4 separate regions of the Homo sapiens genome follow, and all the other regions are linked to region 1. The links are contacts of gene promoters, found by promoter capture Hi-C in blood cells and fetal thymus (Javierre and others, 2016). All regions are on one chromosome and are shown on one strand. The core of a region is centred on a gene start or on the middle of the fragment in contact, and the rest is flanking DNA. Distances in the headings are between cores, read along the strand shown.

The links. Contacts are between HindIII fragments. The CHiCAGO score rates a contact against its expected background, and 5 or more counts as called.
Region 2: a fragment that was not itself captured here is called in contact with the fragment with the promoter of DKK4 in region 1 in 5 of 17 cell types (naive CD8 T cells, non-activated CD4 T cells, total CD4 T cells and 2 more); the score reaches 7.7 in naive CD8 T cells.
Region 3: a fragment that was not itself captured here is called in contact with the fragment with the promoter of DKK4 in region 1 in 1 of 17 cell types (neutrophils); the score reaches 6.3 in neutrophils.
Region 4: a fragment that was not itself captured here is called in contact with the fragment with the promoter of DKK4 in region 1 in 1 of 17 cell types (activated CD4 T cells); the score reaches 6.6 in activated CD4 T cells.

Annotation. Positions count from the first base shown.
Region 1 is chr8:42,373,899-42,380,421 of GRCh38, reverse strand. DKK4 (dickkopf Wnt signaling pathway inhibitor 4) reads left to right here and starts at 3,193. Exons shown (of 4, transcript NM_014420.3): 1 at 3,193-3,487; 2 at 4,592-4,742; 3 at 5,509-5,661; 4 at 6,063-6,359. The coding sequence starts at 3,377. The coding sequence ends at 6,322. The HindIII fragment of the contact is 5,398 bases long and covers 2,489-6,523 here.
Region 2 is chr8:41,709,300-41,714,643 of GRCh38, reverse strand. It overlaps ANK1 (ankyrin 1), which reads left to right. Exons shown (of 43, transcript NM_000037.4): 16 at 390-488. Among named protein-coding and RNA genes, the nearest start is that of MIR486-1, 51 kb to the right of the region's middle. RefSeq lists an enhancer at 229-1,428. The HindIII fragment of the contact is 1,599 bases long and covers 3,024-4,622 here.
Region 3 is chr8:41,548,982-41,555,298 of GRCh38, reverse strand. All of the region lies in intron 1 of GPAT4-AS1 (GPAT4 and GINS4 antisense RNA 1), which reads left to right. Among named protein-coding and RNA genes, the nearest start is that of GINS4, 23 kb to the right of the region's middle. The HindIII fragment of the contact is 3,862 bases long and covers 2,214-6,075 here.
Region 4 is chr8:41,825,144-41,832,238 of GRCh38, reverse strand. It overlaps a transcript of ANK1 not described here. Among named protein-coding and RNA genes, the nearest start is that of ANK1, 31 kb to the right of the region's middle. RefSeq lists enhancers at 3,354-4,013, 3,854-4,148, 3,700-4,257. The HindIII fragment of the contact is 1,406 bases long and covers 1,635-3,040 here.

The DNA.
Region 1 (6,523 bases), core at 1,944-4,443:
TCTTTCTTTTCTTTCTTTTTTCCTTCCTTCCTTTCTTTCTTTCTCTGTCTCTCTTTCTCTCTTTCCCTCCCTCCCTCCCTTCCTTCTTGTTGGTGGGAGGACAGGGTCTCGCTCTGTCACCCAGGCTTGAGTGCAGGGATAGGATCATGCAGCCTTGACCTCCTAGGCTCAAGCAATCCTCTTGCCTCAGCCTCCTGAATAGCTAGGACTGCAGACACGTGCCACCACACCAGGGTAATTTTTGTATTTTTCGTAGAGATGGGTTCTTGTTATGTTGCCCAGGCTGCTCTTGAACTCCTGGCTTCAAGTGATCCTCCCATCTCACCTTCCCAAGTAACAGAGACTACAGGCAAGTGCTGGCATGCCCAGGTTTTTTATTTTTTGTGGAGACAGGGTCTTGCTATGTTGTTCAGGCTGCTCCCTGGCCTCAAGTGGTCCTCTTGCTTTATCCTCCTCACGAAGTGCTGGGTACAAGCATGAGCCACTGCACCCAGCGGATCATGGCATTCTCAGTCTGATATATCTCCAATGACTTTACATTGTGCAGAGAATAGAATCTGATTTTCTTAGCATGGCATATCAGGGTCTGCATCTTGCTTCATCTCATCCTTCCATCATCTGCCGCAGCCACACAATCTCTCACTAGCACCTGAGTGCACCTCCTCCCTCTTGCACACACCTCACCCTCTGAGCCCAGGTGAGGATATCTCCGACTTCCCAACTTAGGAAGCCCCTATGCAACCAACAAAATTCAGCTCAAATATTACCTCATCTGTAAACACATTCCTTTATTTCTCTAGAAAGTCTAAATCATGCCTTCGTCTGTATTTATATCTTCATAAGTCCTCCACCCTTATATTTATACCTTTATTTTAGTGCTTGTCATAATACATTGAAATCATCCATATGTACATGTCTTCTATCTGGATCTCTCTCTCTCTCTGTGTCACCCAGGCTCTGTCATCCATACATACAAGTTTTCTGTCTGAATCTTTCTCTCTCTCTCTCTCTCTCTCTCTCTCTCTCTCTCTCTCTCTCTCTCTATATATATATATATATATATATATATAGGCTTAATCTCCTGGGCTTAAATGATTCTCCCACCTCAGCTTCCTGAGTTGCTGAAACTACAGGTGAACACCACTATGACTGGCTAATTTTTTTTTTTTTTGAGATGGAGTCTCACTCTGTTGCCGAGGCTGGAGTGCAGTGGCACCGTGTTGGCTCACTGCAACCTCGGTCTCCTAGGTTCAAACAATTCTCCTGCCTCAGCCTCCCGAGTAGCTGGGATTACAGGTGACCACCACCACGCCCGACTAGTTTTTATATTTTTAGTAGAGACAGGGTTTCACCATATTGGCCAGGCTGGTCTCGAACTCCTGACCTCAGGTGATCCATCCACCTCAGCCTCCCAAAGTGGTGAGATTACAGGCGTCAGCCACCGCACGCGGCCTACTTTTTTTTTTTTTTTTTTTTTTGTGGAGACAGGATCTCAATATGTTGCCCAGGCTCGTCTTGAACTCCTGAGCTCAGGAGATCTTCCCACCTTGGCCTCCCAAAGTGCTGGGATTACAGGTGTGAGCCACTGTGCCCGGCCATTGGAGTTTCAAATTTTATTCCTAACATGTAATCCGAGGCTCTGTTCCATGCCAAGTGCTCTAAGTGCTCAGTGGCTGTTTGTGCCGTGTTACAGGAGTTCCCGTCAGTTCTTTCGCCTGTGTATATTGCCAGGGGCCTTTGGTAACCTGAAATTCCCTTACAGTGAGGCAGCAGGAAGCAGAGAAACCCGGCAGAGACAGAACCCTGGGGGCTCTTTCCTTTATCCTTGGTCATAATTGTACAACTTGAAAATAAATTCTGTAACACCCCTAGTCACCAGGGTTATCATGCTATCAAAGGGTGTTGTTTGATGTCAGTTTAAGGGATTAAAACAAGTAACTTCCATACGAGAGGTAGACAAGCAATACCAACCCAAGGACAAGGGCCAAGTAGTAGGAAGGCTCGAATCACCTGCATCACCCTCGGAATGGCACTGCATTACTCAAAATTGAGAATGTTCCCATGCACAGAATGCTGAGATTCATGTCAATGAATTGATGTTAGGTTGTTCTGCAGGAAAATGTAGTAAATAATAAGATTATCATTTATGGCATAGAAAAAATGCATTTTAGATGACTCTATGCTAAGAGCAATGAAACAATGAAGAGAAAAAATGATTTTTTGATCCAGATCTAGATTGTTCTACCCTTAAAGTATTTAAGACAGTGATAAGCACATGTCTAAATTACCTGACTAATAGTCCAAATGGAAAAAAATCAGACAGGAAAGGGATGAAGCAGAAGTTTTAAAAAATTCGTATTAGGAAAATTGGAAATACATGAAATTTCATCTGAAATCAGCCAGAGACTTGGATCCTTGTTCTGCTTAAGTGAGTTTTACATAATGCAACACAAATTAAATATGTTGCTGATAAAATGGACCCAAAGCTTCGTACTGAATTGTGTAAAATGCGCTATCATTGTTCCCACCATTGAAAAATGGGATTTTCATAAATTACATTATTTTCCTAATAACCCTAACTTCAAACAGTTCAATTTTCATTTAAAGGAAAGTAATTTCCCAAATGGCATTTAGTCAGAACAGGTGCTGTTACGTTCACAACTTTTAAGCGGTTGGGATTTTGACATCTGGATGCCAGAGCTAATCAGGGGGCGTTTTCTCTTTTTCTATCTGTCCTCACTATCTGAAGCCCAGTTTACAGCTTCTCAGTGTATTTTGTACCTCATTAGTTTTTGGCATCCTCTATAGCATATTGGCCAGTATGATTCATCCTTTCTTTGAGCACAATTAGCTGTGAAAACAGATCTTAGGGCAGACTCCCTCCCTACCCCCAAAGGATTACTGAAGGTAGGAAATGCAGGTGATTATCAGAGTTTGCCTTTGATACAGACATCCTGCTCTGCCGTGGCCCTTTGAACTAACTTTGATATGCAATAATTAAGAGGGATTGAACCCCTGGAGGAGAAGCCGCATGGCCCTGCCTCTTCTCTCCTTCTATTGAGTCCTTGTTTTGAACTATTGATCAAACAGATTTGAAGGGATTTGTTGAAGCCTGTGTGGGGCAGGAGGAAGGAACGGAGCGGGGAGGAGGCACATCTGGTTATAAATAGTTTCAGGAGGAACCTGCTGGTCAGACTTTGCTCAGCCGATTTCACGCACCTTACTCAGACTAAGGTTTACTTCTTTCAGAAAAAGCAGTGACAAACAGACGACGTGCTGAGCTGCCAGCTTAGTGGAAGCTCTGCTCTGGGTGGAGAGCAGCCTCGCTTTGGTGACGCACAGTGCTGGGACCCTCCAGGAGCCCCGGGATTGAAGGATGGTGGCGGCCGTCCTGCTGGGGCTGAGCTGGCTCTGCTCTCCCCTGGGAGCTCTGGTCCTGGACTTCAACAACATCAGGAGCTCTGCTGACCTGCATGGGGCCCGGAAGGTAAGGCTGCTAGGGAGGGGGGCGAGGTACGGGACTGCTGACAGCTGGGGTGTTTTGTTTAGGCTTTAGTAAGTCATTCTGATTCATGTATGAAATGTCTTACCTAGCAGGTAAATTGAATTGGTTTCGGATTTGGGAGGGCATCCTGGTAGGATCAGTGGCCTTAGTGTGAATGTATGAAATAAACACAGTGGCTTTTCACATCATTCGGCCATACGTTTGTCTATAAATCACGAAATAAACGAACACTTTGGAAGCTCTACTATGTGCCAGCTCTTTTACATGTAATACGTCATGTACTCTTCCTCACAATTTGAGATAGGTGAAACATTCCCTAATTCCAGATGAGGAAATAAGACTCAGAGATGTTGAAGAGCTTACCCAAGCTCACACAGCCAGCAAGCAAACATGGGAATGAGAATTTAAACAGAGGGCCATGATGCATTGCCTTGTCACCATCTAACTTCACAGAGAGAGTTGTTTTAGGAATCGCTTTATGTATGTGTATATGTTATTATATATCGTATAGATTATTACATATATCATATATGCTACACCTACGTTGTATGTCTATGTAGAAGCATCAACTGTGTATGAGAACAATTGATCTTCGGTATCTCTTTCTCTATGTCAATGAGGCATCATTGAAAATCAAAGGACAGTTCACTTAGGGAAGGGTCTCTAAGCTAAATGTGATTCACTAGAGTAAAAAATCAAATAGGAATGCCACAAACATCAATAGTATGTTTAATGAAACTGTAGCCAGCTTCTAGAGTTAAGATATATTGAAAATCTCATACTCACCTGTTAAGACACACATAGGAAAACATTTTTTCCCATTTTCACAAAGAGCACAGGAAAACTAAATTCTGAGTTAAGTCAATTTTTCAAACTCAAATAGCCTTTGCAGCGCCTAGGTCTCCCCGGGTGACATGAGCTTCCCTTTGTGGGAGAAAACCATTTCCACTGGAGAGTAAGATGCTGCCCAGGGTTTGTCACAGCGCCACTGTCCTTTGGCTCCCTCCGCCTCCTGCCTTCAATAATAAGTCATCTTCCATCGTGTTGGGGGTTTCCTAGCCTTGTGATAACAGATTCCCTCCACAGGGCTCACAGTGCCTGTCTGACACGGACTGCAATACCAGAAAGTTCTGCCTCCAGCCCCGCGATGAGAAGCCGTTCTGTGCTACATGTCGTGGGTTGCGGAGGAGGTGCCAGCGAGATGCCATGTGCTGCCCTGGGACACTCTGTGTGAACGGTGAGCGACATAACGCCAACAGTGGTTTTTAAACCGAAGGTAGTGTCTAAGCCCCATAGACTAGAATATTCCAGGGTAGGCACTCTCTAATGGTGCTTCCTAGATTCATGCTTGAAGTAAATGTATGCAGCTGCCTTTTCTTTTCCTTTTTTTTTTTTTTCTGAGGCGGAGTTTCGCCCTTGTTGTCCACAGCTCACTGCAGCCTCGGCCTCCGGGTTCAGGTGGTTCTCCTGCCTCAGCCTCTGGAGTAACTAGGACTACAGGCATGTACCACCATGCCCGGCTAATTTTTGTTATTTTTAGTAGAGATAGGGTTTCACCATGTTGGTCAGGCTAGTCTCGAACTTCTGACCTCAGGTGATCCACCTACCTCGGCCTCCCAAAGTGCTGGGATTACAAGCGTAAGCCACCGGACCCGGCTTGCCTTTTCTTAATGAAACAAAATAATTTATTTCCTGGCAACAGCTCTTGCCAATGACTTGGAGATAATGATTTTAAAGGAAAGACTCAAGTTGTAATCATTCAAATACTTCCATTTCCACTTGGATACCATTAACTACCTTTAATGGAATGCAATTTCCACTTAGCTACTTTCTCTGCCACATGCGAGCATGTAAATATTTAGCACATGTTCCAGAAATCTAGAAAGTTATATATAAACTGAAGGCAGAGGTGCTGCCAAACTATGCAACAGTAGGATAATTAGTGTGTCTGTGGTTCTCCCCCTTGAAGTTAATAATTCTAGTTACACCTGGTTGTCCCTCAGATGTTTGTACTACGATGGAAGATGCAACCCCAATATTAGAAAGGCAGCTTGATGAGCAAGATGGCACACATGCAGAAGGAACAACTGGGCACCCAGTCCAGGAAAACCAACCCAAAAGGAAGCCAAGTATTAAGAAATCACAAGGCAGGAAGGGTAAGAACAGCATTCGCAGCATATTTTATTTCAGAAATGCATTTTCTCCTCCCAGCCTCTTAAGGATAGGGTGAGACTGATTTTATTCTTCTCCATCCCAGAAACACTTAGGAAGCATGTGCTGTTTGTTATCTCTTTCTGTAAGAAGCTGTGGGGGTCACGTAGAGAGTAGCCTAAGGTAGTCTGCAGCCAGTAACAACGATCAATTCTGATGGGTAGGGGTGGAGTCGCCATGGCATTACTGCTTTTAGCGTAACACCTAGCTCTGTGAGACCTGCGTGCTGTGTCTGTTTTTACTTTGTGGCTGTCAGTCATAGGTCCCATTCCCTTATCCCAGTAGCAAACCCCCAGCAGGCCACTTTCCTTATTTATCACTAAAGCCCACATTAACCTTGTTACAGGACAAGAGGGAGAAAGTTGTCTGAGAACTTTTGACTGTGGCCCTGGACTTTGCTGTGCTCGTCATTTTTGGACGAAAATTTGTAAGCCAGTCCTTTTGGAGGGACAGGTCTGCTCCAGAAGAGGGCATAAAGACACTGCTCAAGCTCCAGAAATCTTCCAGCGTTGCGACTGTGGCCCTGGACTACTGTGTCGAAGCCAATTGACCAGCAATCGGCAGCATGCTCGATTAAGAGTATGCCAAAAAATAGAAAAGCTATAAATATTTCAAAATAAAGAAGAATCCACATTGCATTTGAGCTCAATCTTGGACATTAACTTTAAAATGCTTCCATACAGATCTCTCTTAAAATCAAATCTTGTAGCAAGTGAAATAGCCTGAAACTAGAGAACTAAGAGATGGCGACCTTGTGATGAATGAAACTAGCTTTAGCCTTTTGTCCGTTTTTCCAGAAAACTGATG
Region 2 (5,344 bases), core at 2,574-5,073, 670 kb after region 1:
GGTGATCTTCCCTCTTCAGCCTCCCATAGCTCTGGGATTACAGGTGTGAGCCACTGCACCCGGCCTGTTTATATTTCCATGGGTAGCCATCGAGAGAGAATGGCCTTTGGAAAGACTGGCCTTTCTGTCAAAGGCCTTATCCTTTTGGAAAGACCCGATGGCCTTCTCCGGGCAAGTGTATTGATCTCACTGCCCACGTTCCCCCCTGTTCCCACAGGGCTCTGGGTCCTGCCGATGACATTCTGTCATGACTCCAAGTTAAGACTGGCCTGGGAAAGATTTTAAACAGGATTTTACTGTATAAAATAGGTGCTCCCATGCCTAAAGGGAGTCCTGGGAGAAAGTCCGTGGGAGTGACAGCCGGCCTCTTTTGTCTTTGTCCCCTGCAGAATGGCCTGACCCCCCTGCACGTGGCCGTCCATCACAACAACCTGGACATCGTCAAGCTGCTGCTTCCCCGGGGCGGCTCCCCGCACAGCCCTGCCTGGGTAAGGCCCGCCCCTCTCCCCAGCTGCCCCTGGAGAGCAGGTCACCTGCTACCTTCCAGTCCCTCAGGGAGGGGGGTTTCCACAGCAGCCCAAGGGTTTTGCGTTCTGTTGCTATTTTTACCTCAGAAATCACGCCTCACTTTCCCACATGTTACCTGCCCTGTAATCACGCTATTCAGGGCCCAGGAGTGGGATGGGAAGTGGGTAACAATTCCCAGCCAGGGGTTACCTCGCAGAGGCGGAACTTGTTTTATACAACAAATGTGTCCCCAAGCAGTTGCACGTCAGCTGGGTTTTGTAAACTGACTGTCAGAGGTCAGTGTGGATAAAAATCCCTGGGGAGTGGTGAGCCCGTTTCTAGCATTGCTAGATTCTGACTCCGTGGGACTGTGCAGTGTGGCCTGGAAGCCTCATTTTTAACCTACTCTCTGCATGGTTCCAAGGCTGGGGCCACAGCGACCGTACTTTGAGAAATCCTCAGGGCTGCTGGCGAGCTTGCTGGAACCTGGAAACAAGAGACCTCTTTAAAATGAGAATGATCATCTCCAAATTCATTTGTCTCTGAGATCAGACTTTTAGATAGTGGCATTTTTGTAGGGAGGCTCACCTGAATGTGAGACACATTGGCCCAGCCTCACACCAGCTTCGGAGGCGAGCTGCTCAGAGCAGCAGGTTCCGTGACCCTTGAGGGAATCAGAGGAGGGAGCAGATGGGTTGCTTCTGGAAGACCCCACGGGGTTGGGTAGTACAAGGATAAAGCTGGAAGGACCATTTTTGGGAACAGGCTGCCTGCTGTGGGAAGGCGAGGCTGTGTAGGGATAGGCACCGCGGGACTGGTGGCCAGCGGGGAGAAGGGGAGAGGAGAGGGAGCGGGGCCAGGAAGACAAAAGCCACACGCAGTACCCGCACTCTATGGGGCAGCCAGGCGCACGGGAAACAGGATAATTTATGGGAGATCCGTCATGTGGCAGGCATCCAAGTGCTGCAGAGAAGGAGCCTCGGGGTGGGACCCCATGTGACTCCAGCCAACACCTGCTGGCTTAGGGCCTCCGCAGCCCAGGCAGGGAGCGTCAGTGCCAGTGCAGGGCTTCGGCGCGTTCTCCCTCCCTGGACAGACACGTGTCCCCATCTTGCAGCATCGCTCTTCTACAGACGCCGGCTCCCGACAGCTGTCTCCTCCTGTCCCTGCTGCAGTGAGTCCCACGTCGCTGTGCAGAGGGAGCACACGGCCCCGCTGCGATGTCGACTTACTCCTGCCTCTAAAAATAAAAACCTGGACTCCCCTCCTCCTCACTCCCCTACTTATATAAAAGGAACGGGAGCCAGGTTCATTATATTTAAAGATAACTAAATCCAAGCACAAACCCTGTACAGATGGGCTTTGTTTCCATGGCAAAAAATAGTTTCCAAAGTAGTCTGGCAATTTTGTAGAATTTCACATGCAAATCTCTCTGCACCCAAACCAAACCCTCCCCTTTCTAATTTTGATGCTAATGTTGTTTGAACATTTGGGCAGAGCTCCCTCCGTGTGCATTCCTTAGGATGAGCTCATTTCCTTGGGAAAGAAGAGCCTTTTGCGGGCACACATTCCTCCCTCCCCTCTCCGTGACTTTCCAGCCTAGTTGTCCTTGTCCTTGTCACCTGCAGAAGTTCATTTGTTCATTTTAGTTCTGGTTTAGGGGAAGCTCAGAGGGGCAGTCCGTGTTCTGAGAGTCACAGTGGCACTTGTATCTCAATTTTAACCAGAGGTTTACCTGGTAGCCTGAGCCATGTCCAGGGCAGGCCTACCCTTGGGCAGGACAGGGGGCTGGCCTTGCCAGTGTGGACATCGCTGCTTCCCAGGTGGCCTGGGATTCCTGAGGATACATCCATGAACACACTGCAGATTGCTCAAGTGATGGACCCTTGTACATTAAAAGATGGCCTAATAGGGCCGGGCACGGTGGCTCAAGCCTGTAATCCCAGCACTTTGGGAGGCCGAGACAGGCAGATTGCTTGAGGTCAGGAGTTCAAGACCATCCTGGCCAACATGGTGAAACCCCGTCTCTACTAAAAATACAAAAATTAGCCGGGCATGGCAGCGTGCACCTGTAATCCCAGCTACTTGGGAGGCTGAGGCAGGAGAATCGCTTGAACCCGGGAGGCAGAGATTGCGGCGAGCCAAGGTCTCACCACTGCACTCCAGCCTGGGCAAGAGAGCGAGACTCTGTCTAAAAAAAAAAAAGATGGCCTAATAATCATTGCTCTCATGTAGTTATTAATGGAAAAACCAAACTCCATAAAGTCTTTTGGAGGTTTACTCTGAGCCAACGTGATAACCATGGCCCTGGGCAACACAGCATCAAGAGGTCCTGAGAAAGTGTGTCTGAGGCGGCTTACAGTTTGGTTTTTTATATTTAGAGAGGCAGGAGTTACAGGCAAAGACGTAAATCAATACATGGAAGGTATATATTGACAAAAATACCTAGAAAGTCCCAGAGGTTATAGGCAGATTCCGAGATTCTTTAATTTGCAATTGGTTAAAGGAGTAAAGCTTTATCTAAAAGTTTGGAATCAGCAGAAAAGCATGAAGTTGAGAGAAGGGTCTGTTCACCAGGGTCCTGGGCCGAGTGACCTCCAGGGGGCATGTGACTCAGCCCTTGCCTACTGTGGCCTTGGGTCCTGTTGATAATTTGGTGTCTTGTCACAAAGAGTCCCTTTGGTTAGTCTTATGATCTCTTTTAACATGAATGCCGGTCAGTTGCGCCTAAACTCCGAAAGGGAGTGGGTATAGCAAGGCGTGTCCAACCTCCCTTCCTTCGTGGCTGGGAATTCAGTTTTTAAGGTTTTTCTGGGATCTCTTTGGCCTAGATGGGATCTGTGTGGGGCTTAGGGTTTTATTTTTCATTTACATAGTGAAAATCTTCTCTGGGCCAGCGCTGACTGGTGCTCCGTGTCTAATCGTGGGGAGGCTTAGCTCTGTTTTGAGCCGACCCTGCATCTCAGGCTGGATCTGCGGCATCGCACCCCATTCCTTTGCTCTCTTTTAATACAGTGCAAAAATCATGTTGTTTAATTAAACTTATTATAATCCAAATGCCGATCTTGTTACATGAACACAACCTACGAAGAACAATTTAATGTTTTCTCATAACATAATCAAATTAAAAAGGAAGAATACTAGAAAGGATTATCTCATGTCATTCTTCAAAGAAAATGATTTTTCAATTTAATTCAATTCCTTGGGTAAGTCTCAACTTTTCGTTTCACCACAAAAGCCACCTATGGGCCCACCTTGCTGAGCTTTCCCTGTACCCAGGGCTTTGACTGCCTTGGCCAGCCCCTTTCTTTCCCTTTCCTCTTCCTGACCAGTGATCCTGGCAGAATCAGAAATGTTGGTTTCCACAGTAAGAGAGTGGCTGGCAGGGAGAACTCAGTCCTCAGCCAGAGGAATGCTGGCCGAGGTGGGGAAATCTCGTGCCCTGAGACAGATCCCACGTTGGGCAGCCATCTGCTATGGGCCTGGGTGGGCGCATGTCCAGGACGTCCTCCAGCCTGGCATTGCCCTTAACCCTGAGTGCCCTAGGGCCTTGCTACTGAAAGTGTGATCCCTGGACTAGCATTGTCAGCATCATCTGGGGGCTTGCTAGAAATGCACAATCTCGGGCCCTCCCTAGCGCCTCTGAATCAGACACTGCATTTTAACAAGGTCCCAAGGGATTTGTGTACACATCAGAGTTTGAGAACCACTGTTCTAGCTGGAATTACCTGGGCTGTGCAATCAGAAGTTCAAGGTTGGGTTATCTGTTGTTCTGCTTACTACGTGACATTAGATAAGGTGCTTAACCTTACAGAGAATTGGCCTCTTTCTCCACACAATAGGATAATAAAAATGCCTGCCCTAGTGACCTTATGTGGTTTTAATGAAGCGCAAAAAAAATGCAGGTGAAAGTGGTTTTCGGCAGTGATGAGCAAAGGTGCCCACCTGGGAACTGTCTCTTGCCTGCAGGGAGATAAGGAGTGTGCTCCAGAATGTAAACCCATGCGCTGCTTCCTTCACTGAGACAGTCTTGCTATCAATAATAATAATAAAAACAAAAATTGGCTGAATAAACAGTGCACAGTGACATCATTGATTTACTTTTGAGGCAAGCTTCTTCATCTCATTGTGCAATTATAATGTCTTGCAAACCAGTGCACTGCAAAACCATGACACACAGGTGCATTACTTTTTAAAATTTTTATGTGTAGAGACAGGGTCTTACTCTGCTCCAGGCCATAGTGCAGTGGTACGATCAGAGCTCACTGCAGCCTCCAACTCCTTAGCTCAAGCCATCTTCCCACCTCAGCTTCCTGAGTAGCTACAGCATGCACCACCATGCCCAGTTAATTTTTCACTTTTTTTGTAGAGATAGGGTCTAGCTATGTTGCCCAGGCTGGTCTCAAACTCCTGGCCTCAAGTGATCCTCACACCTCAGCCTCCCAAAGTGTTGGGAATACAGGCATGAACACTGTGCCCTGCCAACTTTTTATATCTTAATTTTGGAACATACCTTCACGTATAGTATCACGTTTGATCCACCTAACAACTTCGAGAAATGAACAAGATAGATGCTATTATCCACTTTTCATGACTTAAAAGATACAGAAGGAAGTCTAGGTCATGGAACATCTTGCCCTGGGTCACACAGGTAGTTAACAGTGGAGTGAGGACTGTCCCACATCCTCAAGTCCCTTGCCAGGTGCATGTCCCTTAAACCACCCTGCCTAATGCCGGCAAGGCCCAGAGGGCAGCACTTGGCCCAGTTGCACTGGGAAAGAAAAGGGGCTGATGTTTCTTTTTCTTTATGAAATATTTGGGGTTTTTGGCTCTTATT
Region 3 (6,317 bases), core at 2,895-5,394, 830 kb after region 1:
CTGTCTCTATTAAAAATACAAAAAAAAAAAAAAAAAATAGCTGGGTGTGGTGGTGCATGCGTGTAATCCCAGCCACTTGGGAGGCTGACGCAGGAGAATTGCTTGAACCCGGGAGGCGAAGACTGCAGTGAGCTGAGATCATGCCACTGCACTCCAGCCTGGGTGACAGAGCAAGACTCTGTCTCAAAAAAAAAAAAAAAAAAAAAAAAAAAAAAGATTGCATGTAGCTGAAAGAGAAAGCTAGGACATCACTTTACTCCTCTTCCAACTAATAGCGTCTTCTTTTTTTATATGCCACTGCACTGATTAATGTAATTATTGTTTTCACTCAGATATCATTCTAGACTCTTCTGTCTTTAATTTCCCACCCACCTCCAATCTAAATGGTTGTCCTCTCCTCTCAGACATGCCTATTGCTAACATTTTTTTCAAATCTGCAATGTTACTTTATATTGATACTAGTTCCCTGCTGAAATTCTTGAGTTCATCTTTTATCTCCACAAGCATGGTTGTTTTCCAGACTGTCTAGTAATTCTACTGTCTGGAGTACCTGTTTGTATTATCTGTTGCTTCTATTGGTTCTCATTCATACTATCTTTTCTCCATATGTGCCTAGTTATCTTTATGCTAGACATTGTATTTGAAAAATTACTAATAGAAGTCATTTGAGGCCAGGCATCGTGGCTCATGCCTGTAATCTCAGCACTTTGGGAGGCCAAGGCGGGTGGATCACATGAGGTCAGGAGTTTGAGAGCAGCCTGGCCAACACAGGTGAAACCTCGTCTCTACTAAAAATACAAAAATTAGTGGAGTTGCTGTGAGCCAAGATCACGCCACTGCACTCCAGCCTGGGCGACAAAGTGAGATGTTATCTGTCCTCAGAGATGATTTTAGTTTACTTCTTGAAGCCACCAGCAATCTGGATAGCTTTAATTCAATTTATAATTTGGAGATTTTCAGGGCCATCTACATGATTCAAAGCTGGACTAACATCTGTGTGTGTATGAGGGGCAGTTGACTTCTAATTCACTTTTACTCCTAGTTTGTATTATACAATGTAATACTATGTATTATTTATACATTTATATAATGTAATACTATGTATTTATACACTTATACAATGTAATACTATGTATTACAATACATAGTAATTCTGCAAGGTGGTTTACCAGAACTCCCAGCATTCATAGGCACTAAACTCTAGCATTGCCCCTTTAGTCCCACTGGGTTGGTGGTGCTTCATGATTTTTGTTCCACAGACCCCGTGGGTATTCTGATGAAGCTATGACTCCTTCTCAGAACTATGTACCTATACATATACATTTTATATATGTACATTATATACATTTTATATGTACATATGTAGGTGTGTGTCAGTGTGTGTGTGTTTATTTGGAGACAGGGTCTCATTCTGTCACCCAGGCATGATCACGGCTCACTGCAGCCTCAACTTCCTGGCCTCAAGTGATCCTCCCAATTTAGTCTCCTGAATAGCTGGGATTACAGGTGCATGCCATCATGCCAAGCTAACTTTTGTAGTTTTTGTAGAGATGGGGTCTACGTTGCCTAGGCTACTCTCAAACTCCTGGGCTCAAGTGATCCTCCCACCTTGACCTCCCAAAGTGAGAACAATATTTTTTTAATGCATAAATAAAATATGTAATGTCAAAGGAAATCTATTATGTTGAAACACAGTGATCAAAACATTAAAAAACAAATTTGCAATAACAGTAGCACATGTGCTTCTTTATTAATGCATTACATAACATGTTCTGGCAGCAGGTCTAATGATGACTGAAATTTTAAAATAGGAATGTAAATGACGTTTTGAGATATCTGCAACAACTGTAAATGTGGTAGGAAGGTATCTGATTTCTGTTGGTGACAAAGTCACAAGTACTGATAATATTACTGTGGCTTATCAGTACTTGTGACTTTGTTACCAATTGATAATATTACTGTGGCTTGGCTAGGCACAGTGGCTCACACCTGTAATTTCAGCACTTTGGGAGGCCAAGACAGGCAGATCACTGAGGTCAGGAGTTCAAGACCAGCCTGGCCAATGGTTGCAGTGAGCTGAGATCGCGCCACTGCACTCCAGCCTGGGTGACACAGCGAGACTCCATCTCAAAAAATGTATATACACACACACACACACACATATATTACTGTGGCTTGTTGCCTAGATTCATAATAGAAGGGAAATCTAAGCTTCATTTAGAGGTTAGTGCAAAAAAAAATGTATTTTTTTTTCATTTTTTTCTTAGCCAAGTTCATGAATCTTCTGAATTGCATGGTCCATGAAACCCAGATTTAAAATCGCTGCTTGAGGCTGTTGGAAGCACTGCTGTCTCTCAGCTACCACTTGGCCTGGGCAAATGCTGTATTGACCCCCGCTTTTTTTTTTTTTTTTTTTTTTTTTTGAGATGGAGTCTCGCTCTGTTGCCCAGGCTGGAGTGCAGTAGTGTGATCTCAGCTCACTGCAAGCTCCACCCCTCGGGTTCATGCCATTCTCCTGCCTCAGCCTCCTGAGTAGCTGGAACTACAGGAGCCCGCCACCACGCCTGGCTAATTTTTTGTAGTTTTAGTAGAGACGGGGTTTCACAGTGTTTGCCAGAATGGTCTCAGTCTCCTGACCTCGTGATCCGCCTGCCTCGGCCTCCCAAAGTGCTGGGATTACACACGTGAGCCACCACGCCCGGCCTGTATTGACCTCTTTTGACTGTGGTCTTCTAGATCTTGGTGCAACAATTCCTCACTAGCTTGTTAGCTCCTTGATGGCTTTAGAAAAATGCTTTTTATGTTTCACCCAGTGTTTGTCTTCACTAAAAATGATCCATATGGCCTAGTCCACCACTACAGCAGCAGAAGGCCCAGTACACTGCCAGGTTACCTCTTCCTGCATGTACTACAAGACCCTCATTCCTTCTGGCTTGGATTTGCCCACACAGCCCTGGCTCCTAACCCTCCAGTGTGACCTCCATTCTCCACAGTCACCAGAGGGATTTCTCTGTGAACTGGATTTCTAAAAACGTAAAACTGGGCTGGGTGTGCTGGCTCATGACTGTAATCCCAGCACTTTGGGAGGCCAAGGCAGGCGGATCACTTGAGGTCAGGAATTCAAGACCAGCCTGGCCAACATAGACAAACCCCGTCTCTGCTAAAATACAAAAATTAGCTGGGTGTGGTGGCATGTGCCTATAGTTCCAGCTACTCCAGAGGCTGAGGCATGAGAATTGCTTGAACCTGGGAGGTGGAGGTTGCAGTGAGTCAAGATTGTGCCACTGCACTCCAGCCTGGGTGACAGAGCAAGACTGCCTCAAAAAAAAAAAAAAGGTAATAATAATAATAAATAATAAATACATAAAATAAAAATGTAAAACGGATTCTATCAGGCGGGTGCAATGGCTTATGCCATTTGGGAGGCTGAGGCAGGCGAATCACCTGAGGTCAGGAGTTTGAGACCAGCCTGACCAAAATGGTGAAACCCCATCTCTACTAAAACTACAAAACTTAGCCGGGCGTGGTGGCGCATGCCTGTAATCTCAGCTACTCGGGAGGCTGAGGCAGGAGAATCACTTGAATCTGGGAGGCGGAGGTTGCAGTGAGCCAAGATTGCGCCACTGTACTTCAGCCTGGGGAACAAGAGCAAAACTCTGTCCACCCACCACCCCCCCCTGCAAAAAACAAACAAACAAACAAAAAAACTGATTATATCAAATATTAAAATCTTTCAGAGCCTTCTAAATGTTTTCATGCAAAATTCATACATTTACATTTTAGCATGACAAATCAGACTCCTGAAGACTTTTGTCTGAAAACCTGTCTCCCATGAGACTCCTATAAGACTCCTCCAAGATGGGAAACTGCCTCTCCTCCTATCCCCGAATCTTGTCTGATGCACCTGCCATGCCCAACTCCTGGGAGTTTCCAGAGTACTGGATCCACCCTGTGGCTTCTGTGCCTTTGCATGTGACCTTTCTGCCTCCAGTAGCCATCCTCTCTTCCTTCCTCAGCCTGGCTAGCTCTCCAGTGTTTCAAGTCTTGGCTTGGGTACCACCTCTTCTGGGAAGACTTCAGGACTCTTCCAGTCTTTCGAGTTCTTCCTGTGTTTTTTCATAATACCCCCTGTTCATTCATTTTTTCTTTTCTCTTTTTCTTTTTTTTTTTTTTTTGAGGCATGGTCTAGCTCTGTTGCCCAGGCTGGAGTGCAATAGTGCCATCTTGGCTCACTGCAATGTCCTCCTGTTGGGCTCAAACAAACCATCCTCCCACCCCAGCCTCCTGAGTAGCTGGGACTACAAGCACATTCCACCACACCTGGCTTTAGTATTTTTGGTAGAGGTGAGGTTTTGCTGTATTGCCTAGGCTGATCTAGAACTCCTGGGCTCAAACAATCTTTCCATCTTGGCCCCCCAAAGTGCTGGGATTACAGAAGTGTGCCACTGTGCCCTGCCCATTCCTACCTTTATACAAGCATAGTATGCTGTGATTTGGTTTTTGTTGGTCTCCCTCGCTAGACTGTAAGCTGCTTTAAGACAGGGGCTTTCTTCTCTGAATGTGCAGCACATACCACAATGTCTAACCCCACCTTTTTTTTTTTTTTTTTGAGATGCAGTCTCACTCTGTCATCCAGGCTGGAGTGCAGTGGCATCATCTCGGCTCACCTGCAACCTTCACCTCCTGGGTTCAAGCAATTCTCCTGCCTCAGCCTCCCGAGTAGCTGGAATTACAGGCACCCGCCACCATGCCCGGCTAATTTTTTTTTTGTATTTTTAGTAGAGATGGGGGTTTCACCATGTTGGTCAGGCTGGTCTTGAACTCCTGATCTCAAGTGATCTGCCTGCCTCGGCCTCTCAAAGTGCTGGGATTACAGGCGTGAGGCACCGCACCCAGCCAGCCTACCTGTTTGTTGACTAAAGTGAATGGAGTTATACCTGGCACCTGCTGTTGTTACTAGGTCACTTACCTCACCTGGCCACTCTTTTTAAACAAGTGCTGGAGTGAGAGGACACTACACCTCCTGCCTTCATTACCACTTTTGCTTATGAATTTTCCTACTTAGGAATTCATATGCTGTCAAATGGCTTATAAATCACTCATTCCCATACATGTTTTAAAAAGTGGGAACTAATATATATCCAAGTTACTAATATGTACTTATATATCTTTTATGTAATTCTTCCCCAAATTTGGGGTAGCTTTTAAAATTAAGGCAAAATAGAAGATTGAAACTGTAGGTATCATAAGGAGATCGGAAACTATTTAAGGAAAGACACAAGGAAGCTCAGAGGGAGGCAGGGGCACACAAAGTGGCTCTGAGTTCCTGGTAGGAAGGCCGGGAAGGGGAACAGATAGGACTCATTTGTCTGATAAAATGAACCATAAAGTTTGAAAATATAAACTTTTACTTGCACTGAATTCTGAGAAAAATTTATTACAGGGATTCTTATATAGAAACAATGGATATGTAATAGATAATGCCTTCAGTTCTAATTTTCAGAAAACATGGAAATGTTTTTCACATGGCTGTCTCTTTGCTAAAAGCAAAGAACTAAAACATTCATCCAGAAATACTGACTAATGGGATCCAGTTTGATACAGAAGTAAAAGTTGGATGGCTGGGAGTGGTGGCTCATGCCTATAATCCTAGCACTTTGGGAGGCTGAGGTGGGTGGATTGCCAGAGCTCAGAAGTTCGAGATCAGTGTGGGCATCATGGTGAGACACCATCCATATCTACAAAAAATACAAAAATTAGCTGGGCGCCGTGGTATGCGCCTGTAGTCCCAGCTACTCTGGAGGCTGAGTCAGGAGAATCGCTTGGACTCCAGGAGGCAAATGTTGCCGTGAGCCAAGATCACGCCACTGCACCCTAGCCTGGGCGACAAAGTGAGACTCCGTCTCAAAAAAAAAGTTGGAGAACCAAGAGAAATGGACTGAAGAAACAGCCCTTCGGCTCTCTCGTGTTAGTTGTTAAACTGTTGACAAGAGTGTGGGCAGCAGCCTACCCATGAGCTCACTAAAGAGGACCCAAAGGGTACACGTTATGTTGTTGACTGGAGATCAGAAAGCTTCAGATGCCAGAAGATGGCAAAGTTGATGATCTTCTACACAAACAAAGGAGGCCTGCTACAGTCTCACCTGGATTGAGGACCAAATCACTTGTCCGGAGGTTGAGGGCAGCCACGTCTGCAAACAGAAGTGGGAGTGGACAGCACACGCTTTAACACGTGAAGCTGGGTGTGGGAGAGGCCATTTCTCACTGTTATTTTCATGACCTATTCTGGAAGTGAGATTGCAGGCCGACCAGAAAGC
Region 4 (7,095 bases), core at 1,088-3,587, 550 kb after region 1:
GGGGAGCCATAATGTCTTGCAGGATCTGGGCTTGATTTTTAAAATACTGTCTAGCATTTATTTTAACAATTCACATGCAGTAAAATTCACTTCTCTTTTCATTCAGTCCTGTGAGTTCTGACAAATGCACAGTCATGTATCATCACTATGGTCAAGATACAGACAGATCCATCGCCCCGCAAAATTCTCTTGTGCTGCCCCTCAGTAGGCAAATCCTCCCCGCTTTTCCCACCCCTGCCACCACAGATCTATTCTTCACCCCTGGATTTTCCCTTTTCCCAATTGTCTCCTAAATGGGATCATATAGTCCGAAGGCCTTGCATCCGTGTAGCAGCATGCTTTTGGGATGCACCCGTGTTGCTGTGTGAATCCATATTCGCTCCTTAGTAGCACTCCACTGTACGAGGTGCTGCGGTTGGTCTATTCATTCACACGCTGAGGACGTGTGGGTTGACTCCAGTCTGGGGCGGTGATAAATAAAAATAAAGCTGCTCTGCAAATTTGGGTACAGGTACCTTCTTAATGGTCCTTCCTTCCTTCCTTCCTTTTCTTTCCTTTCATTCCTTTTTTCTTTTTCTTCTTCTTTTTTTTTTTTTTTTGACAGACTTTTGCTCTGCACTGGAGTGCAATGGCGCAATCTTGGCTCACTTGTAACCTCCAATTCCTGGGTTCAAGCAATCCTTCTGCCTCAGTTTCCCGAGTAGCTGGAACTACAGGCATGTGCCTCCACACCCCACCAATTTTTGTAGTTTTAGTAGAGATGGGGTTTCACCATGTTTTCCAGGCTGGTCTTGAACTTTTGACTTCAAGTGATCCGCCCACCTTGGCCTCCCAAAGTGCTGGGATTACATGCATGAGCCACCATGCCCGGCAAACATGGGTTTTCATTTATCAGGTAAATACCCAGGAGTGGGATTGCTGGGTCATGTGCAAAGTATGTTACTGTTAGAAGAAGAAACTCTTGGGGCTTGAGGTATGAGCGCCCGCAGCTGCCCACACTTTTCAGATGATAGCCCCAGATTGCTGAGGGGCTTTCGGTTTTACAGATGGGGAAATGGAGGCCTTGAGAGGTCAGATGACGAGTCCATAGTTTTAAGGAAGGTCGTCGTCAAGGTCCAGGCGGAGCCTCGTCTCCTGTCTCCCAGGCCGCTGTGCTTTCGTCTGTATCTCAGTTCCCTTCATCATCTGTTGCTGCAAGCTTATTCTCATGGGATCCGTTTATGGGACACATTGGGCCACCAACAATTAGCCTCTCCATGCACTGATAAGGAATGTGACCAAAAAGATTAATCCATTTGGTGAGGTGACCAAGTGATTATGTAAACAGCCGTGTTGATGAACAGAATCTATCTTCAAAGGTTATGACAGTATTATACACACAGCCCTCACGCTGGGCATTTGGCTTGATGGAGCTGTCTGCAAAATTATTCTTCAATGATTCATCTACCAAATTATTCTTCTCAGACCTTTTCAAGCAGAACCGACACAGAACTGGTGTCTGCGTTTCTTTGGCACTGGGTAGGTAGGAGCTGTTTGCTTTTCTTACTCGCTTCTGACTCCCTTTGCCTTGGGATTTGGGTCCTATCCCCGAAAGCCCTAGTCCCAGACAACCTTTTCTTTACCTGCTTCAAGCTTAGAATCAAGAGAGCAGTTCCTGACACTCCCTGGGAATCTTGGCTTTACCACAATTCTAGCTTTTGAACATTTCAATGGAGGATTAATTGTTATTCATGCTGTCATTGTTATGTAGGTCATTTTTTCTTTGGATCAAGTTGACGGGATTTTATCATCTGTGGAAAGCAGCCATATACCAGAATGAAGAATACTTTTGATTGATGATTTAGCTTAAAAATAGTTTCCTCTTTTAATAAGCCTCATTCGGGAACAAATGACCCCAGAGGGAAACTGGGTGCTTATCTAGTAGCCTATGTATTTTGCAGAGAATTTCTAGAAATGTGTGTATTTTGAAGAAAAGAAGAGGGGCTTTGGCTGTTTGGTCCTGGAGATGGGTCTAGGAGCCTGGGGTGGGGGCATCTATTGGTCTCTCCTAGCTGACCCCTGCCCAGAGAACTGCAGTGCCCCTTGCCCAAATAAAAGGTATGCCCGAGTGGCTGAGTGGGTGTTTCTAGTTGGATTACTGCAGGCTCAACATTAGATTCACCAAATCATTATTTAGTACTTGCTCTGTGCTGGGCAAAATTTCATTGATGTTATCGGAGGAATATCTAGGCAAAGAGAGGAGACCTCACTTATAAAAACTAAAGGCCTTGTCACGTCAGATTTTTTTTTTTTTTTTTTTTTTTGAGACAGAGTCTCGCTCTGTCGCCCAGGCTGGAGTGCAGTGGGGCGATCTCGGCTCACTGCAAGTTCAGCCTCCTGGGTTCAAGCCATTCTCCTGCCTCAGCCTCCCAAGTAGCTGGGACTACAGGCGCCCGCCACCACGCCCGGCTAATTTTTTGTATTTTTAGTAGAGACGGGGTTTCACCGTGTTAGCCAGGACGGTCTCGATCTCTTGACCTCGTGATCTGCCTGCCTCGGCCTCCCAAAGTGCTGGGATTACAGGCATGAACCACTGCGCCCGGCCCAGATTTCTTTTTAAAAGGCAGTTAGGGATGGCAGTCTTAGACAATGAGCTCCCCTAGTGCCCTTCCAATGGAGAAGCACAACGAGAATCTAATTTGTAAATACCAGGTCTTACACGGTGAGTGGGACTAGGAGAAGGCATCGACTGCACGCTGGGGTCAGTTGCCTGGGAGCGAATCCAGCTCCACTCCCTGCTGTGGCCTTGAGCAAGTAGCACTTAACCTCTCTGAGCCTCTTTCTGCATCTGAAAAATGGGATTGGTCATAAGGTTGCGATGGGCATGTGCCCCCTGAGAAACATCAGTAAGGTGGCAAGGGTGGCGAAGACGCTGTTCCTCGGGTTTTGTTCCAGCGACGAAAGCTAAGTTCATCAAGCCACAAGAAGAAATCTCAGATTTTTTTTCCCCCTAGGAAATGTGAAAATTGAAGGTTTCCTTTGAAGCCTTGTGGCAGAAGCTTCTGAAAGCCGAGTCACAGATCTTGCACAGTGCTGTCCCAAACGCCGCTGATGTGCAAACGGTGGCCCCCGTCCCCGTAGGGAGGCCAGAATGGGACAGCAGAGATTGCGGCAGGGTGTCCGGTGAGCAGGGGACCCTCACGGACCGGTCTAGACGCGAGACTAGGATTTATTTATTAATTCTTTCAACTGCGGCGGTGGAATCAAGATGGCCTAGAGGGCGCCAGGGGGCGCTCTGGAGAGGACGGGCGGCAGATCCGAATGGGCCCCGAGGAGGGCGGCGCCCCGGGTCACGCGCGACTTCTGCGGAACCCGCCTTTGCCGCGCAGTTTTCGGGATTCGCGGGAAGAAGGCGCAGCCTCCCAGGCCCAACTCTCTCCCCAGCACTTTCGCGTGGAAAATCTTCAGGAAAATGAAATGTAGCTCCCCGTATGCCCTCTCCCCAAAGATGTAAAGGACTCTGGAGCGGGCGCGAGGAGCAGTTCCTGTTTCATTACGAGCGCCCCCTCTCCAGCCCGGTCATTGTAGTGCGAACCAGAACAATCAAATTAACAGAGGCACTCAGGAGCCTTTTAGTGCTACTGTTCCAGGAACTGAAGAGGCCTCGGTATGGGAATCCCCACAGAGTAATAAACAGCACGTGGTTGGAGCGCCGAGGAGGAGACTCGCTCCACCTGGTGGCGGTGATGTCCTCTCGGAGGAGGTGGCAGGACACAGAGGCTGGCGGCCACAGACGGGATCTGTAATTCAGTGCCCGCCATCACGTACCTCGGCCTGGCCCTGTGCAGCTTGGAAGCTGGAGACGGAGAAGGTGGAAAATGAGAGTTCATGGAGTGTCGGGCCTAAGCTGAAGGAGGCGGCGCTGCACGCACAGACGAAGGAAGGCGGCCCAGGGCGGCTGCTTGGTGTGGAGGCCACAGCCCAGCACGGGCGGAGCGGGGCGGAGCGGGAGGATGGGCGGGAACGGCGCTGGGTGTTCCTGCTTCCTCCTCTAGCTCGCAGCCTTTCATAGGAAATTAAACATTCAGCACTGGAGGACCGACCGGGAACTCCATCATTTTGATTCCAACCTGGTGCCCAGGGTCTGGAATCAAAATCCCTGAGCGCTCGCGGCCCTGGGGCGGGGCTGAACCCTGAATGATCTTAGTCTGTTTTAATAGGAGAGTTGCAAACAGTGGGGGCTTCCTCTTTATTGCTTGGGCAAGGGTGTGTGTGTCGGGGGTTGGGGGGCGGGGGCGGTGTGTATCTGTGTATGCATGTGTGAGTGCGTGTGTGTATGTGGGTGTGTGCACGTGAGTGTGCATGTGTGGGCGTGAGCATGTGTGTGGGGTGTGTGAGTGGGTGTATGTATGCGTGTGTGCATGTGTGAGTGCGTGTGTGTATGTGGGTGTGTGCGTGAGTGTGCATGTGTGTGGGCGTGAGCATGTGTGTGGGGTGTGTGAGTGGGTGTATGTATGCGTGTGTGGATGTGTGTGAGTGTGAGTGGGTGTGCGTGTGAGTGTGTGTGAGTGTGTATATATGAGGGGATGTGTGTGGAGATGGGTAGGTATTCGAGTGTGTGTGTGTATGTGTGTGAAGAAATAGCCTTTGTAAAACCAGGTCAAAAAATACCTTTTATTACTTTAATGTTATAAAATAACTGTAGTTAACTTGCAATCCTGTCTAACCTACATTTCCTTTTAAAGGCCATTACATTTTGTTTTATTTTAAAGCTGTGAAGATAGTATGTGGAGAGTTTGCATCTCATTATTTCTTCATTTGATGCTTGACTAATTCAGGCCCTAAATTCCAACTCAGAGAGCAGTCTAAGACGCTCGCAGTCCTGTGTGGGTGCATCTTGGCCAGCTACTCTGGCGGAGGCATACATCTCATTCACACCAGCAAGGGGAAAGGCTGGATTAGGAAAACGCAAGATGTGAGTCCTGTACTTTTCTTACAAGTGTTGCTACCATTAGATGGGTATTTATTCCTGGCTCCCAGCAACCTTGTCTGAGAATTTTCACTTTTGCATAGAAACAAAAAAAGGGTAGGGGAATATGGAGCTCAAATAATGTGAAGCAATCTGAAAATCAGCAAATATTACTGAGCACTACTATGTGTAAGACAAGGTTGCTGATTATTAAGGGCTTATATTATTACCAGCAACAGAAAACCAATTCTCAAAGTCATTAGAAAAGACAATAGATCAAGCAGTGAATTATGCAATCTGTGCAGCAAAGGCTAAACATATTGACAGGAACATACATACAGACCAGAATTATTAGGCAAGGCTTTACGGGATGGAGAATTAAAGGCAGGGAAAGATTTAGATGGATGGAGGGGAGGAGAGGGGAATTTGAAAACTCACATGGAGATCCAAGGATAAGAGCAGAATGTTTATTGTTACGACAAGGCTAGAAAAAAAAATGAAGGGTACAAAATATTATGCATGGTATAATTCCAGTTCTGGGAAAACATGTATTATTCATGTGCAAAGAAAAAAGACTAAGCAAATGCATCAAAATGTAAATCATGTTTAGGATGTGATAGATTATGGGTGATTTTTAGTTTCCTCTTTTTACTTTTTGGTATTTCCTATTTTCAATGAAATGATTTATTCTTATCACTAGAAAAGAAAATGTTGTTCCTTATTTGGAGAAGGGCCGGCTGAGGTGCTGGTGGGACGGTGGGACGCTCAGCACACAGTGAGCCTGGGGTGCAGGGGAATCCAGAGGCCCAGGCAGCAGAGACAGAGGGCAGGGGATGGTGCTAAGCCAGGGAGTGGGTGGTGTAGGCTGTCTTTGAGACCTGGGCAGCAGGAGTGAGCATGGTGACCTGAGGAGGAAGGGACCAGCTCTGAGGTTACATCAAGGTGGCAGAGCTCCCACCTTTCCTACAGCCCCAGCCTGTTTTCTCTGGGGACAGTTACAGTGAGTAACTTAGACCCCATGGGGTCATAGACAATCAGCAATGGGCCAGAGTAGCCTTTTCTAGAAAAATAGGGCAATTGCACAGTCAGCAAAGGGAGGATTAGAAATCTCACAGCTGGCAGGTTGGGGGCACCAAGGACCCCTCCCCTCTATAGGATTGGATGCTAGGGGCATACATTTCCTAGTTCTGACATTCCCAAGTCATCAGGCCTCTTTGGATTAGGACTAAAGGCTTGTTAATTGCCTACAAAAAGTCACTAGTGGGCAGGACCAAGGGTGTATTAGTGTGTTCTCATGCTGCTAATAAAGACATACCCGAGACTGGGTAATTTATTAAGAAAAAGAGGTTTAATGGACTCACAGTTCCACATGGCTGGGGAGACCCCACAATCATGGCAGAAGGCAAAGGAGAGCAAAGGCACATCTTACATGGCGGCAGGCAAGAGAACATGTGCAGGGGAACTCCCCTTTATAGAACCATCAGATCTCGTAAGACTTATTTACTATCACAAGAACAGCATGGGAAAGAACCACCCCCATGATTCAATACCTCCCACCGGGTCCCTCCCACAACATGTGGGAATTATGGGAACTACAATTCAAGATGAGATTTGGGTGGGGACACAGCCAAACCATATCAAAGGGTAAGGTGAAATCCCACCACGCTGTGCAGTCTCCACCAGGAGAAAATGGACTTGTTTCAAGTGTTGAGCTCAGGCCTGGTGGTTCACTGAGAAGCTCAGCTTGGTCAACAGGACACAGTTCTCAGAGGCAGTTGCCACAAAGAGACTTGCGGAAACACTGAACTGTTGGTGGCCAAAACGACTTCTGACTGTACGGTGGACATGGGAGGCCAGAGTGTGATTAAAGTGAAAGTGTGACCCCAAGGCCAGTTCTAGGGGGGACAGAGCTGGCGAGGTTTTGCAGCTTACTAATAATTGTGATGAAAGATTAATAGAGTATTGATCATTTACATTCATAGAAGTACATTTCTTTACCTAATCCACAGAACAGTAACATCATGAGCTCAAAATCTTTTTAGCTAGAAGCCTGTGTTGTAGGAAACTAGAATGGAAGTGCATTTGGAAGAGCAAAAATGTCCTAGTCGGGCGAGCAGTGGCTGCAGCATTGACTCTGGGTCCTGAGC